3 separate regions of the Homo sapiens genome follow, and all the other regions are linked to region 2. Evidence: promoter capture Hi-C in 16 types of primary human blood cells and fetal thymus (Javierre and others, 2016). All regions are on one chromosome and are shown on one strand. Each heading gives the region's core, a stretch centred on a gene start or on the middle of the fragment in contact. The rest is flanking DNA. Distances are from core to core; before and after follow the strand shown. Region 1 overlaps RBM33 (RNA binding motif protein 33). Region 2 holds the start of EN2 (engrailed homeobox 2). Region 3 overlaps RBM33 (RNA binding motif protein 33).

Region 1 (4,649 bases), core at 1,338-3,837, 320 kb after region 2:
CAGTTCAGGTAGGGCAGGTGAGGGACCCCCGAGGCCCTGGAGCCTTGTCCTGGGATGGGTTTGAAGAACTCATCACTCATCACTTGTTTTCTTTTGGCTTTTGTTGTTTTTGTTTTGTTCTGTTTGTTTTGTTTTGTATTTCTTTGTTATTTTATTGGGAAGGTAAGCGGAATGTGCTCATAGACCATCAGACGCTTGTCGAAGGCAGGTCCTAGTCATGTAATTGCACAGGACAAGGAGGTCAGCGTGTGTGATGGCAGCATGCTGTGCCGGCACATCGTGGAGTCCTAGAAACTCTCTAGTCCCTGCGGCTGTTCCCCTCCTCTGCTCTCTCCCTGGAGAGGACTGCCAGCTCTTAAGAAACATTCCTGGTGCGGTGTCTGCAGTGCCCTTTGTGGGTGACTTCAGGCTTCCCGCTTTCGTGGTGCTCTTCCTGGGATTCGTTTTTTTATTACCCTCCCTCCCTACTTGTAGGCCTCAGCTATGGCTTGACGTAATCGCTTTTAGACCCAGGTTGGCTTCCCTTCATTAAGCTATGATCCTCCACCCCATTTTTTTTTTTTTTAATTTGGAGTGGGAGGGAGGGGGGTGGGCGAGAGAAAGCTCGAAAGGTATTATTGGTTTTTCAAAAAATTAGAGGTGACGATTCTACCAGGGAGTTGACTGATAGGAGTGTGTGCAGGGCAGGAAAGGTTCGGAGGCACCCGACTACCACCACTCGGAAAGCCGCTAGTCCAGATCGACTAGGGAGAGGCTTAGATACTTTAGTGTATTTAAAGAGCATTTCAGTTAACTTTTTCAGCTATTTTTAAAGTTTGTGAATGGAGTGTTATTTTGGACATTCTTAAATATGAATTCTCCAAAGGCATTTAGCCTTGACTTAATATTAAATCCTAAGGATTTTATGTAAGGTTTTTTTGCAACCTATTTAATTTTTTTTAAATGCCTAACTTCTGAGGTGCATAAGCCCGTGGTTTGTGTACTGGAACTAAAGCGGAACTCACTGATTCATATTGGATCCCCAGGTATACCTTCTGCTGGTAGCATATGGCTGGAAAAGGCCGTTTGCCTCACACATTGTAACCTGCCTTGGCTAGAAAATGCTTTTAATGTCTCAACTCTCTCTTTTCTGTGTCATGTTTTGGTAGGAAATCTTTAAGATTGGCGGACGGAACAGGTATTTTAGTGAGACACTTCTGAGTACTTGCTTTTTCCTTTGACTTCTAACCAACTAAAAGAGAAGGAGGTCTTCATGTTGATATTTTGCTTGGTTTTATTTTACTGATTTTAAAAGGTATATAGAAAAATGTAGGCCTTTAAAAAGAAACAGCATGTAGTTTTTTATTTTAATATGTTCCATAGAGTGGATAGGCAGACAGGTACTATTGTAATGTATTCTGTATTTAATAATTTAATATACTCTAGAAAGTAGACCTCATGCATTCTTTTAGCATGATTTTCTTTTAAACTGCTTTTCATTTTAAGGGCACCCGTGGCGGAAGCTGGTTTTGCAAGGACTGTGTAAGCTGTATGCGTTCTAGCTGTATGCGTTCTGTAGTCTTTTCTTAGGTGGGTAACATTTTCAATAACGCGCGCACAGCACACAGGGGTGCCCTGAGCCGAAGGAGCAAAAAAAGCCACCGCTCGTTTCTATAATCCAGCTTTGCTTTTCACAGGCGTGGGATCCAGGATGGTGTCCTCTGTGAGGACTTGAACTCTGGGGCTTTAATTCCACTGTTTAATTTTCAGGTACCACAGCAGCAAAGCACAGAGTGTGACCTTTTTCATGTCTGAGCTGATTCTGTTTGCTCCACGTGCCTGCTTCTTGCTACTGTTCATTTAGTAATGGGATCACCTCACCATGCCATGCTCTGGGCTCTCCCTCTCTGTCCATTTCTGTTTTGCTTTCCTGGCTAAACCCATCTACCATTCTTAACACTGGTAGCTCCTGTCCCATTCCAAGACTCACTCTCTCAGACCTTCCCATCTCCCTGGCTTTCCATGCTCCTCTCCCTCCACCTCCTGGCTTCAACTGGGTGAGGGCCGTATTCCTGCCACTCTGCTCCGCCTCAGCCTTGAGAACTCCACGTGGGCTGGGTGGGAAGGTGCTGACGATTTTCACACTGTGTTTACCACTCCATCACCTCTCAACCTTTGCTTCGACAGGTCTTCACTCACGATTTATTCCTCCAGGTCTTTGATTGGAGAGAGTAACTTTTTAATTCTGTTGTTTTGCAGTTTGGCTCTGTAGGAGTGAGTGGCGATTCAAAGATGCCGGCGTCCCGCAGTGTGCGGTTCGTGCCCTTAACCACCCGCTTCTTTGTTTCCCGCCCCTCTGCTTTCGCAGGAGCTCTTGTGCTTGAGTTCAGTGTTAGTGGTAGCGTGGCTCACTCCACTTGGAGGTGGCGGCCGTCTGACCGTGTGTTACTGCTTTGCCGACGGGGCCTCCCGGCCCTGATGCGTGTACACTCTGCGGGCTGCACCGGGTGGCTCTGGTTGGGGGCGAAGCTGTGTTGACTGGGAGAGCGTTGGAAATTGAGACATGGAGAGATGACGGGAGTGCGTTTCTCTGGGTTTGATCTCCATCCTGTTTTCTCCCAGACACACCACACCTACCTTGGGGGAATGCCGTTGCCTGTTCCACCCCTTTGTTCACTTCGCGTTAACTGCTGTGGTAACTTTTTCAGGATCTGTGTGAAGAATGGTAATGACGTAGTTGAAAGGAAAATGTACTGTTGTGTGTTTCATTTGTGTGATTTCGTACCAAAAAAATGTGTTTGAACTATATTGTATGTAATTTGGAAGTCGTGTTAATAAAACCCTGCAGTTTCCACTCTGGTTCCGTAGCCTTCATTTTGTCTGGGCGCTCAGGTCGGGCCACAGCTCATCTTACCTGTGTGTCCGAGACGGTGCTTCCGCACCTCTGTAAGGGGCCGGGGTCGGGGGCTGCCCTCACGCTCCCCAGATTGGCCGCTGGGTTGCAGCCCGCGGCTTTCACGCAGCTCTCTCATTAGTGGGCCACGAAGGTCAAGGGCAGCCGCCGCCTCCTTGCCTGCATTCTGGGCGCTGCATGACTCCGAACTGACCAGGCAGACGGCATCAAAGTATGCTCCTTTTGGTTGGGGGTGGGGGAGTTAGTCTTTTTAATTTTTTAAAGCATTATAGATAATTTTTACAAGTTTTCTTCAGAAGAGACTTGTATTCCAGCATGGCAATAAGAGACTGAAGGTGGGGAAGCTCAGTCTCCAGTGACGCCGTTCTTCCAAGGTGGCGTGTTCTTGCCGTGTGCAGGCCTCGCTGGAGGTTGGGATCACAGTGCATATGCCATCATGTATATTTTCCATTTCATGTATCCCACGTGTTTTTCATGTTGTTAGAAATTGCTCATAATTTATGGTCTATTTTGAAAATGAAGTCTTTAAAAAGAAGGCAGCTCTGTTTCCAGAAACTACTGTCCAAAACATTCAAGAAGATAACCCCCATCACACCCCCTGCTGTGCCCTGTGATGGGCCGGCTTCCCCTCTCACCCGGATGCTGGTGTTGGTGTCTGTGCTGGGGTTCGGGGGTCGCTGGTGACCAGCTCCAGCCTGCCTGTGTACTGTGATGGGCCGGCTTCCCCTCTCACCCGGATGCTGGTGTTGGTGTCTGTGCTGGGGTTCGGGAGGCGCTGGTGACCAGCTCCAGCCCACTCTCCACCTGCAGCACCCTCTCTTTTCTTATGTAGAAACGGGATCACCGTTCTCAGTCAGCACCCTCTCCTTTCTTACATAGAAACAGGACCACTGTTCTCAGTCACTGCCATTTCCTTTGGTCCCTTGAGTTTGATGGAAGACATGTGGCTCCCTTGACAGGCCTCTCCCATTCTTCGTGGGACAGCCTGTGGGTCAGCGGCTGTGAAAGCCAAAGCAGATTGGGACATGGTGGCACCCTTTCTGTCATCCCCCTGGTCCAGGCCGGTGTGCAGGGCTTGACAGAGCCACCCGGCAGGACCCTGGGGGAGAGCACAGTGGCTGTGGAAGCACTGTTAGGTATGCGGGAAGAGCGCACATGCAAGGTTCCAGCTGTGTTCATCCCTGAGAGCGGGTTTCACAGGCTCACTGCCTCACGGTGGCTGTCCCTCCCCAGGGCCGGAAGCAGGCCATCCAGGCAGGTGCGGGAGGGCCACACAGCCATTCTTCATGCTCTTCACCTCTGTGTAATGCACATGTGAATTCTAGTGACGTAGTTTCAACTACGTACATTTCAAGAAAATGTACTGTTGTGTGTTTCATTTGTGTGATTTCATACCAAAAACTGAACTACATTGTATGTAATTTGGAAGCCATGTTAATAAAACCTTGCAGTTTCCACTCTGGTTCCGTAACGCAAACGGGGGGCCTTCCACAAGCAGGGTGGCCTGCAGTGGGCAGACGGTGGCTGCTTTCAAAGATACATTTTATCACCCTGTTTTCCCCGTTCTCGTAAGGATGAAAAGGAAAGTGCCTTAGTTTGGACCTAAGTAAGGAAGAAAGAAAGCAAGAGAAGAGGCAAATTTGGGAAATTGAAATGGAGGAGGAAGCAACAGGTAACAAAAGCGAAATGTGTTGGGTGAATTTCTCAAATCCGATTTAATTGAATTTTTAAGCCTAAGTCATAATCTGAAAATGCC
Region 2 (4,398 bases), core at 319-2,818:
AGGAAAGTCTAGAAAAGATGAAGAGAGAGGAGGGGAGAAACCAACTGGGGCTCCCACCCTTGCCGTTGGATTCCTAATTCTCGTTTCAAATGGGCCCTGCTCTCCGGCAAAATTAGTTTAAAGGATTTTAAAACAAAGAAAACGAGATGACCGGTCTGGGAGCTCCTCAATCAGAGTAGAGAAGTTAGAGGGGGGCGGGCGACTTGGTTTTGAAGTCTTAGCTGAACAGTCACCCCTCCTCTCCTTGGCAAAAAGGATTCCTTTAGAACCTCCGAGGCTCCTGGATTTCTCCCTTCGCAAATGGAGCCGCATACTGCATTCCCCCGCTCTTTCGGATCGCTAAGCATGTTTCATGAGGGTCGCTGTCCCCGGGTGGAATGCGGCCGTATGCACGCGCCTCCCTGCACACGCACACACACGCACACTTACAATAAGTGTCTGCAGGAGGAGTGTCCTGCGCGCCAGCTCTGCGTTTAAGACAGGAAGCTGCCGGGTTACCGAGTCAAATGGGAGTGACACTATTCCTCTCCATCAGCAAGGAAAGCGGACCACAAAAGTCCCTTTGTATCTCGGCAGCTCATTTAATATTATTTATGCATTTTGTGCAAGGAATTGTGGGATTTCGCCCCACGGTAAACAATATGGAAATCTTAAAAATAGCGATCTTCCTGTGCGTGTCCACCTACGCGCCCCGGGGTGACCTGGCGGGGCTGTCGCCGGGTGACTCACACCCCTGAACCGCGAAGCGACAGGGAAAGCGCGGGCGAGCGCAGGAGACGCGGTCGGGGGTCTCTCCGGGTTCCTGGGCTCCCGCACCCGGAGCGGGGGACGCGGCCGCTTTAAGGGGAGGAGGGGCGGCGGGCTGCTCCTGTCACCCAGCGGCGGCCGGAGCGTCACGTGGGCGCGCGGCGCCGCGGCCATTGGCCCGAGGCACGTGTCCAGGAGACCGGCCTGCGACGTCACTCGAGGGGGCTCTGTTAAAAATAAGAACAAAAATCCAGAGTGAAAGTGTCTCAGGTTGCGCCGAGTGGCCTGGAAATTTCCGAGCCCGCGCGGAGGCCGAGGCGGCGAGGGCGGCGGACGGCCGGGGAGCGCGGGCGGCCCAGCCCGGCCCGGCCGGGCCCTGGCCTCGCGTCTCTCACCCATGCGACTCGGGCCGCGGAGCTCTGCGGGGCTCGGCGGGGGCGCGGCCGCACGCCGGTGGGGCGCCCCGGCCCGCAGCGGGGCGGCGGCCGCGAGGAGGGGGCCTCCATGTGCGTGCGGGCGGTGGCGGGCGCGCTGACCGCGGGCGCCCGGCACCCTCGAGGGCCGGCTAGGGCGTGCGGGCGGGGACGGCCGGGCGGCGGCGGCGGCCGGAGCCGGCCCGGGCGGGCGTGAGCGCCGGGGAACGCGCTGCCTGCATGCGCGCAGCTCTCGCCCCGGGCGGCCCAGGCGGCGGCGCCGGAGCCCGAGGCGGCCGGACGCGGAGAGGAGCGGGGAGCCCGGGAGGCGGCCCGCGTCCCCGCCGGACCACTGCGACTGTCTAGACCCCGGCTGCGCGGCGAAGTCGAGGACTTGGCTCTGTTGAATCTCTCATCGTCTGGGCGAGCGGGGCGGCTCGTGGTGTTTCTAACCCAGTTCGTGGATTCAAAGGTGGCTCCGCGCCGAGCGCGGCCGGCGACTTGTAGGACCTCAGCCCTGGCCGCGGCCGCCGCGCACGCCCTCGGAAGACTCGGCGGGGTGGGGGCGCGGGGGTCTCCGTGTGCGCCGCGGGAGGGCCGAAGGCTGATTTGGAAGGGCGTCCCCGGAGAACCAGTGTGGGATTTACTGTGAACAGCATGGAGGAGAATGACCCCAAGCCTGGCGAAGCAGCGGCGGCGGTGGAGGGACAGCGGCAGCCGGAATCCAGCCCCGGCGGCGGCTCGGGCGGCGGCGGCGGTAGCAGCCCGGGCGAAGCGGACACCGGGCGCCGGCGGGCTCTGATGCTGCCCGCGGTCCTGCAGGCGCCCGGCAACCACCAGCACCCGCACCGCATCACCAACTTCTTCATCGACAACATCCTGCGGCCCGAGTTCGGCCGGCGAAAGGACGCGGGGACCTGCTGTGCGGGCGCGGGAGGAGGAAGGGGCGGCGGAGCCGGCGGCGAAGGCGGCGCGAGCGGTGCGGAGGGAGGCGGCGGCGCGGGCGGCTCGGAGCAGCTCTTGGGCTCGGGCTCCCGAGAGCCCCGGCAGAACCCGCCATGTGCGCCCGGCGCGGGCGGGCCGCTCCCAGCCGCCGGCAGCGACTCTCCGGGTGACGGGGAAGGCGGCTCCAAGACGCTCTCGCTGCACGGTGGCGCCAAGAAAGGCGGCGACCCCGGCGGCCCCCTGGACGGGTCGCTCAAGGCCCGCGGCTTGGGCGGCGGCGACCTGTCGGTGAGCTCGGACTCGGACAGCTCGCAAGCCGGCGCCAACCTGGGCGCGCAGCCCATGCTCTGGCCGGCGTGGGTCTACTGTACGCGCTACTCGGACCGGCCTTCTTCAGGTGAGCCCGCGGGGACCACGCGTCCCGGCTCGCCGCGGGGAGGCCCGCGGAGCTGGGGGGCGGTGCTGGCGCGGGAACTTACCGGGAGGAAAACATCTCGAACCTCCCCCGCGCACACGCACAAAGACTCACGCGACATTGTGTGAAGCTGACGCCGGCCCGGGCAGCGGCCAGGAGTCCAGCGGCAGGACTGATTCGCTAGGGGGTACAGACTTCTTAGGACCGCAGAAGGGACCTTCTTTCTTTCTCTGTCTCTCTCTCTCCTTCCTCTCTCCCTGTCTCCCCTCTCTGTCTTCCACCCCGCCTTGGCGCATCTCTTCCCAGCCCCTAGCCCATGTCTCCCCCACTGTAGTTTTTTTTGGTGGGAACGTGGTGGCTGGAAGATGGGCCCGGAAGTGCACACTCTCATCCCCTTCCCTACGATCTTCCAACTCAGGCCAGGCCGGGGACGCATGCCCCAGCCCACCCCAGACTTGTCCTACCATCCGGTTATCCCGGCTGTGCTCGGGGAAGAAAAGGCGAGGCCCTTTGCCGCTCTGCCTTCTGCCCCTCGGGCCTGCGCTGACCGGTGGGACTCAGGAGGATGCACACAGGGAAGGAGGAAAATAAAGGCGCCCTTTCCCCTTGGCTCCACTTTGTTTGCCAGCGCCAGCCCGCAGTGGTGGGGCTCAGCCCCCTTCCTGCACACAGCGAGGACAAGGGAGGCAGCCGTCCCTCCCGGCACCTGCCATCCCCAAATAGAAAGGACCTTCTCTCAGGGTTTCCTGGGGGCTGCTGATGGGAAAGAGGCAGCATTCGCAGGGGCCCTGCAGAGATGCTGGATATATTTTTTCATAGATCTGCGATTTTAAAAAACTAAGTCCATGTCCTTGTAGAAATCATCAACTGCATTCCATGCGGGTCTGCGGCTGGGAACCGCCATTAGAAGTGGACTGTTTGACCCCGAGCTGGCAGCGGATCCCCGCTGCCCCCAAACCCTCAACTATTTTGCGGGGGTCATTTGCCCAGATCACAGCAGGAGTGAGCCAACCCTTGGGCCGCCATCCCGCAGAACTATGCGTGCATATTTCTGATGAAATTCAGATTTCTCAGCTAGATCTGAAATTTGCTCCATTGTTCTCGTCTTCCTCCTTTGTTAATATTTAATTAACATACAGGCTCACAATGCCGGGCGAGGAGACTCGGCCGGGCTTTGTGCGGCGCGGGAGTTCGCTGAGCCAGCCCCCAACGGCCCGGGAGCTGGGCAGCACCGCCCGGCCCGGCCTGGCCCGGCCCAGCTCAGCCCAGCCCAAGTCGCCTATCTTCATGGGCTTTAAAATATCCCTGCAAGATAATGTTTCTGTTCTTTGGTTTCTCCGAAAGAAAGGGGAGAGAGAGTTTTCTTGGGGAGGTTTGATTCTGTTTCTGAGACTCCTAAGTATTTGTCTTTTGAAAGAAAATCAAGAAAAAAACCTAAAAATTATTATTTTAGGGAAATTTATTGCCATAAAATGGTGTCCTTTTGCGGGCTGCTTCATGAGTGCATTAACAAGAGCCCCAGGACCAGAAGAGTTTGGGGGTAGAGTTCTGGGGAAGGGAGTGGTTGGAAACCCAGACAGAGATGGGCTCTGGGAGCAGGAGGCTGGGGCCTCTCCTGGAGCCTTGTGCCCCATCCCCCACCACCGTTCCGGAGGGCCAACCCCATCTCCAAATCTGCACCTACCCCTACCAAAGCCAGGCCCACTGGCCTGGAGCCCTGGGCGTGAGCAAGACAGGCACTGAGTGTGTACGTGTGCATGGGGTGGGTGCCCAAGTATAGGGTGTGTGCTCTCATGGGTGGTGAGCCTGCCTATGGGTTGCTTTAAAAGCTGCCCTTGGTGCTCCTGAGGTGGTGCCCACAGATCCTCTTTCTCCAGG
Region 3 (4,274 bases), core at 337-2,836, 260 kb after region 2:
AGCAAGTATAAGGGGGCTTCCTCCAGGAGAGACCCTGCCTTGTGTGTTTGAGTAGCCAAAAGGAGACCAGCGTGACTTTTGTGGAGTGATCAAAGCAGAGAAGAAATGCAGAACCTGGGTACCGTGGGGCCGTGGGGCCATCCAGCCATTCTCAGGACTTTGGCAGGGAGTGAAATGGGCAGGGATTAGAGGGGTTTGAGCAGAGGAATGACGTGACCTTGTGTATGTTTTAGAAGATTCCTCTTGCTGCCGTGTTGAGAGGAGACTGTCGGGTGGCAAGGGTGGAAGCTGGTGTCTAGCTAGGAGGTGACAGATGATCCTGGTGCAAACCAGTGTGGTAGCAGGGAGAGTGCAGAGAGCTCAGAGCTGGATGAAGTAGGAAGATGGGGCCGATGGGATTTGCTGATGGATTGGATGAGTGTGAGAGGGAGAGAGGAGGTAAGAGTGATGCCCAGGTGACCAGAGCATTTAGAGGGCTGGTCTGGTTGCCATCACCTGAGGTGGGGAGATCAAAAGTTCTGTTTTGGGTGCATTAAATTTGAGATGCCAACTAGCCATGTGAGTGGAGGGGTCTAGTAGGCAGTTGGATGAGAATTCAGTATAGGGGTTTGGGCTCAAAGTACAGGTCAGGAGGTTGTTGGTGAATAGGTGGATTTAGACCCTGCCCTCAAATGAGAGCCCTGGAGGAGGGAGTCTGTGTGTGGGGAGACCAAGGACTGGGACCTAGGGCACTTGACACAGGAGGGGGAGGGGCAGGAGGAGAACCCGTCAGGGAGGCCAAGGACTGGGACCCCGGCACTCGACGTGGGAATGGGGGCAGGAGGAGAGCCTGGCAAAGGAGCCGAGAGGGAGGAAGGAGGATGACGGTCGATGGGGAAGGAAGCAGGTGGCCACGGGCTGGCAGGGCTGCTGCCAATGGGTCAGTGGGTGTGGCCTGCACTTGGGGCGGGGCTGGTGAGGAGGAGGCACAGGCCTGGCTGAGATGGGGCACGGACTTGAGGCCACTGTATTGACAGACTTTGACTGTGTTTTGCTAAAACAGAAGTTGGATGATAATTGATGGGAGCCAAGTGGGCTTGAGAGAAAGTTTTTTATTCTAAGTTTTTTATTCATTGCACTTACAGAAAAGAGCTAGTTAAGAAGGAAAAACATCATTGATGCAGATGAGAGGAAAAACTTGTCTTGTCCAGGACCACGTGCCAGAGGTGGGCTTGCTGAGGGGGAGGAGCAGGGAGTCCTCCACAGCTGGGGCAGATGGATGGGCAGGTGGAGGAGTCTTGTGTCAGTTCTTCCTTGGTGGCCTCAGTTTCCTCGGTGGGTAGCAGGGAGCTAGAGTGGGGAGGTAGGAGGGCGTGTTGAAGGTCTGAGGAGAGGCGCTTTGGAGCATCCGTTCGTGCTTTCGAAGAGTGGATGTGCGCAGGGATGGATGGGGCTGCTGAGCCCTTGAGGGGTGTGGATTTGAGGTGAGGGCAGTCAGCATGGTTGTGTGTCTCTGTCCAGCTGCGCTCATCTGCGCACACTAGGTGTGGAATAGGCAGGCAGTTGGGTTTATGAGGGTCATAGTTTTCACAAAGTAGTAAAGGGAAGGCAGTGCTGATAACGATGGGCTGTGGATCATAAGGTAGATGCCAGGGAGGAGAAGACACCAGGGAGGAGGCTGAGATGGTGAAAAGGAGATCATTGGAGATCTTTGTAGAGTTGAACGATTGTTTGAATCAGGATCCTAGAGGGAGTGAGATGGAAGGGTGGAATGGTCACCAGGACTGGAGGCAGAGGTGGCACGGATCTGAGGCAGGGCACGGCAAGGGCCGTCTTTGTGTTTATTCAGACTGGAGCTGAACTCCCTGAGAAATGAGAGGGCCAGTGTGGTGCTGGGGCATGTCAGCTGGTGGCATGAGATGAAAGCTGGGTCTGGAAGCAGCAGTTAGATCAAGAAGGAGCCCTTCTACCTCCAGACCTTTGGCAAGAAGCTGTGGGAGAACAGCTGCCACTCAGAGGGGCCATTAGAGCGAGAAGGTGAAGGAACTCAAGGGTGTGGTGGATGCTGCTGATGGGTGGGGAATTTGGGATTCCTAAGGGTGTGGGAGAGAAGTTTCAGAAGTGGAGAGTAGCCTAAGGTAGTAGTTCAAGTGCAGGGGATTGGCCAGTGGCCTAGATCCTGGGACCCTCCCATACGTGGGTGAGAAGTATTATGAAGTTGTCCTGTGGCCATGGAGCAGGGGACTGTGATGGTGACGGGCTGGCCCAGAGTGTAAGGGAGGGGGGCGCCTCTTGACAGTGTCTGCGGGTCACCACCAGGCCACTGGGCATGGCAGAGAAGCATAAGGTTTTAAAGTACAATTAACTCCTAACCCCTCCTGACCCCATCGCATGTCCCTGTGTTCCCCCAAAGTTTTTCCCACCCTGGTTAGCATCGCTCATCCACACATCCTCTTAGGTGGCCCTGAGCGTCGCTGATTGGTGTGGTGCCTACGTCTCCTGCAGTAGCCGTTGAATGAATGGAGACATGAACACACGCATACTTGAATGGGGAAGGGTGGCTTTCTTTCAAGTAATCCTTTGCATCTTCCCCATAGTGGTTGTCCTGAACTTGGAACTGCTGTCAGTCTAATTTGTTGGAATAATTTTGCTTATGCTAGCATCTGTTATTCTTGTGCATTTCCTTGTAAAATGCCGTGGAAAGCTGGCAGCTGGTAATACGTACAGATTTTCTTTAGCTTCACTAAAATAGTCTTAGAAATATAGGGTGGTAAAGCTGTCAGGAAGCCCCAAGATATCCTCTATGTATGAAAATGGTGTCCCCTGCAAAAGTCAACAGCCTGGCAAGTGTAGAATGCAGGCCTTGCACCCCAAAGCGCACGTGTGATTTAGCAACTACTCCAAGGTCAGCTTTCTGACAAAAGTTTTTAAACTCAGAACCAGCTAGCTTTTTCTCACCATGAAACTAGGAGCTTTAGTGCCGCATGTCCCTTATCTGTCATTTACCTTTGACCTTCAGAGGTACACTGACACAGGAGAGAAGGACAAAGTGTTCTTGCTAGGTAGATAGGCAACACTTTCGAAGCAGTTGTTTATTCTCTAATAGATGAATGAGCTTAAATAGAAATGCACAGTTCCTCTTGAGAGAGACTGAATATCAAGATGTCTCCTGTAGGTAAAAGATACACAGATTAAACCTTTGATTCTCAGAGCCTTACACAGATGAAAGGTGCTTTTTAAAAAAGCTAGCAATATATATACATCTTCTTCTGATGGCACAGACTTTCTGAGGATGAAGAGTGTTCCGTTATAATTTATTTAAAAACAATTTTGATGGAAATTTAACTTGTTTCCAGGTTTTTAGTATTATAATTATAATGAATTGAAAACAGTCCATTAAATACATGGGACAAGTTATAAATATTAAACTTCAAATATTCAAGTTGAAGCTTCAGCTAGACTGGTCTCTAACATCACACCTGTTAAATTCTTCGCTGCAGTAGTCGGGCAGCCAGGGCCTGGCAGGGAGAGCCCGCAGACACATGCCTGGGTATTCCCACTGAGGTGGCATCTCTTGGGTGGGCCAGGTGTCTGCACTGTTCCCATGGGGACTGGACTGTCCGCACGCAGCAACCCTTTTTGTCAGCTGTTTTTCCTTTTCTGCTGTTTTTTTTTTTTTTTTAAATAGGGAAAAGGCTGGTACTTTGTGCAAATTACCAGCTCATCAGAGGCTTCTGTGTAAGAAATCCATTTATTATAATCAGATTGCTTTCTAGAAATCCCACCTCACCTTCTTGCTCTCATTCTCCTGGTTAAAGAGGCTTAATGTTTTATCCTTTTATCGTGTTGGAATGTTTTGGTAGATATTGGCATTTAAATTCCAAGTTTCTAAGTGGTACCTATGATCGAGTTAGTGAAGATCTGGGTGTCTTATATTTGTTAACTTGATTATAAAAATCACGTCTTTACATTTAATATGTAGTGTTTTTCTTTGTCACCTTCATTATAATCTTCTGAGGTCAGAGATATTCTTGTTTTTTTCTTTCTCCACTTTCTCCAGTCTAGTGTTTCACTTTAGATATGGAATTGATGTAACATCAGCTGTGTAGAATTGAGGGGAGAGTTGGATTCTATTTTATATAAAGTCTTGCAAACTGACCCACTCTAATTTTGAAATTTGGACTCATTAGATTAGTCTGTCAAGGAAGGGATGAACTTCTGCCATTTTTACATTTTATAAAAGTAAGTTTTGTTTCAGTCACACTTTGCATTTGATCAAGCAGTGACACAGGCCA

The links. Contacts are between HindIII fragments. The CHiCAGO score rates a contact against its expected background, and 5 or more counts as called.
Region 1: a fragment that was not itself captured here is called in contact with the fragment with the promoter of EN2 in region 2 in 1 of 17 cell types (neutrophils); the score reaches 9.0 in neutrophils.
Region 3: a contact is called between a fragment that was not itself captured here and the fragment with the promoter of EN2 in region 2, in 1 of 17 cell types (neutrophils). The highest score is 5.6, in neutrophils.

What each region holds. Positions count from the first base shown.
Region 1 is chr7:155,778,648-155,783,296 of GRCh38, forward strand. It overlaps RBM33 (RNA binding motif protein 33), which reads left to right. Exons shown (of 18, transcript NM_053043.3): 18 at 1-2,833. Among named protein-coding and RNA genes, the nearest start is that of SHH, 31 kb to the right of the region's middle. RefSeq lists a silencer at 2,808-3,102 and enhancers at 3,355-3,890, 3,891-4,425. The HindIII fragment of the contact is 5,935 bases long and covers 1-4,649 here.
Region 2 is chr7:155,456,561-155,460,958 of GRCh38, forward strand. EN2 (engrailed homeobox 2) reads left to right here and starts at 1,569. Exons shown (of 2, transcript NM_001427.4): 1 at 1,569-2,502. The coding sequence starts at 1,818. EN2-DT (EN2 divergent transcript) reads right to left here and starts at 558. Exons shown (of 3, transcript NR_186580.1): 1 at 430-558. RefSeq lists an enhancer at 231-1,222. The HindIII fragment of the contact is 14,368 bases long and covers 1-4,398 here.
Region 3 is chr7:155,712,672-155,716,945 of GRCh38, forward strand. The region is part of intron 8 of RBM33 (RNA binding motif protein 33); the gene reads left to right. Among named protein-coding and RNA genes, the nearest start is that of RBM33, 70 kb to the left of the region's middle. The HindIII fragment of the contact is 3,679 bases long and covers 1-3,426 here.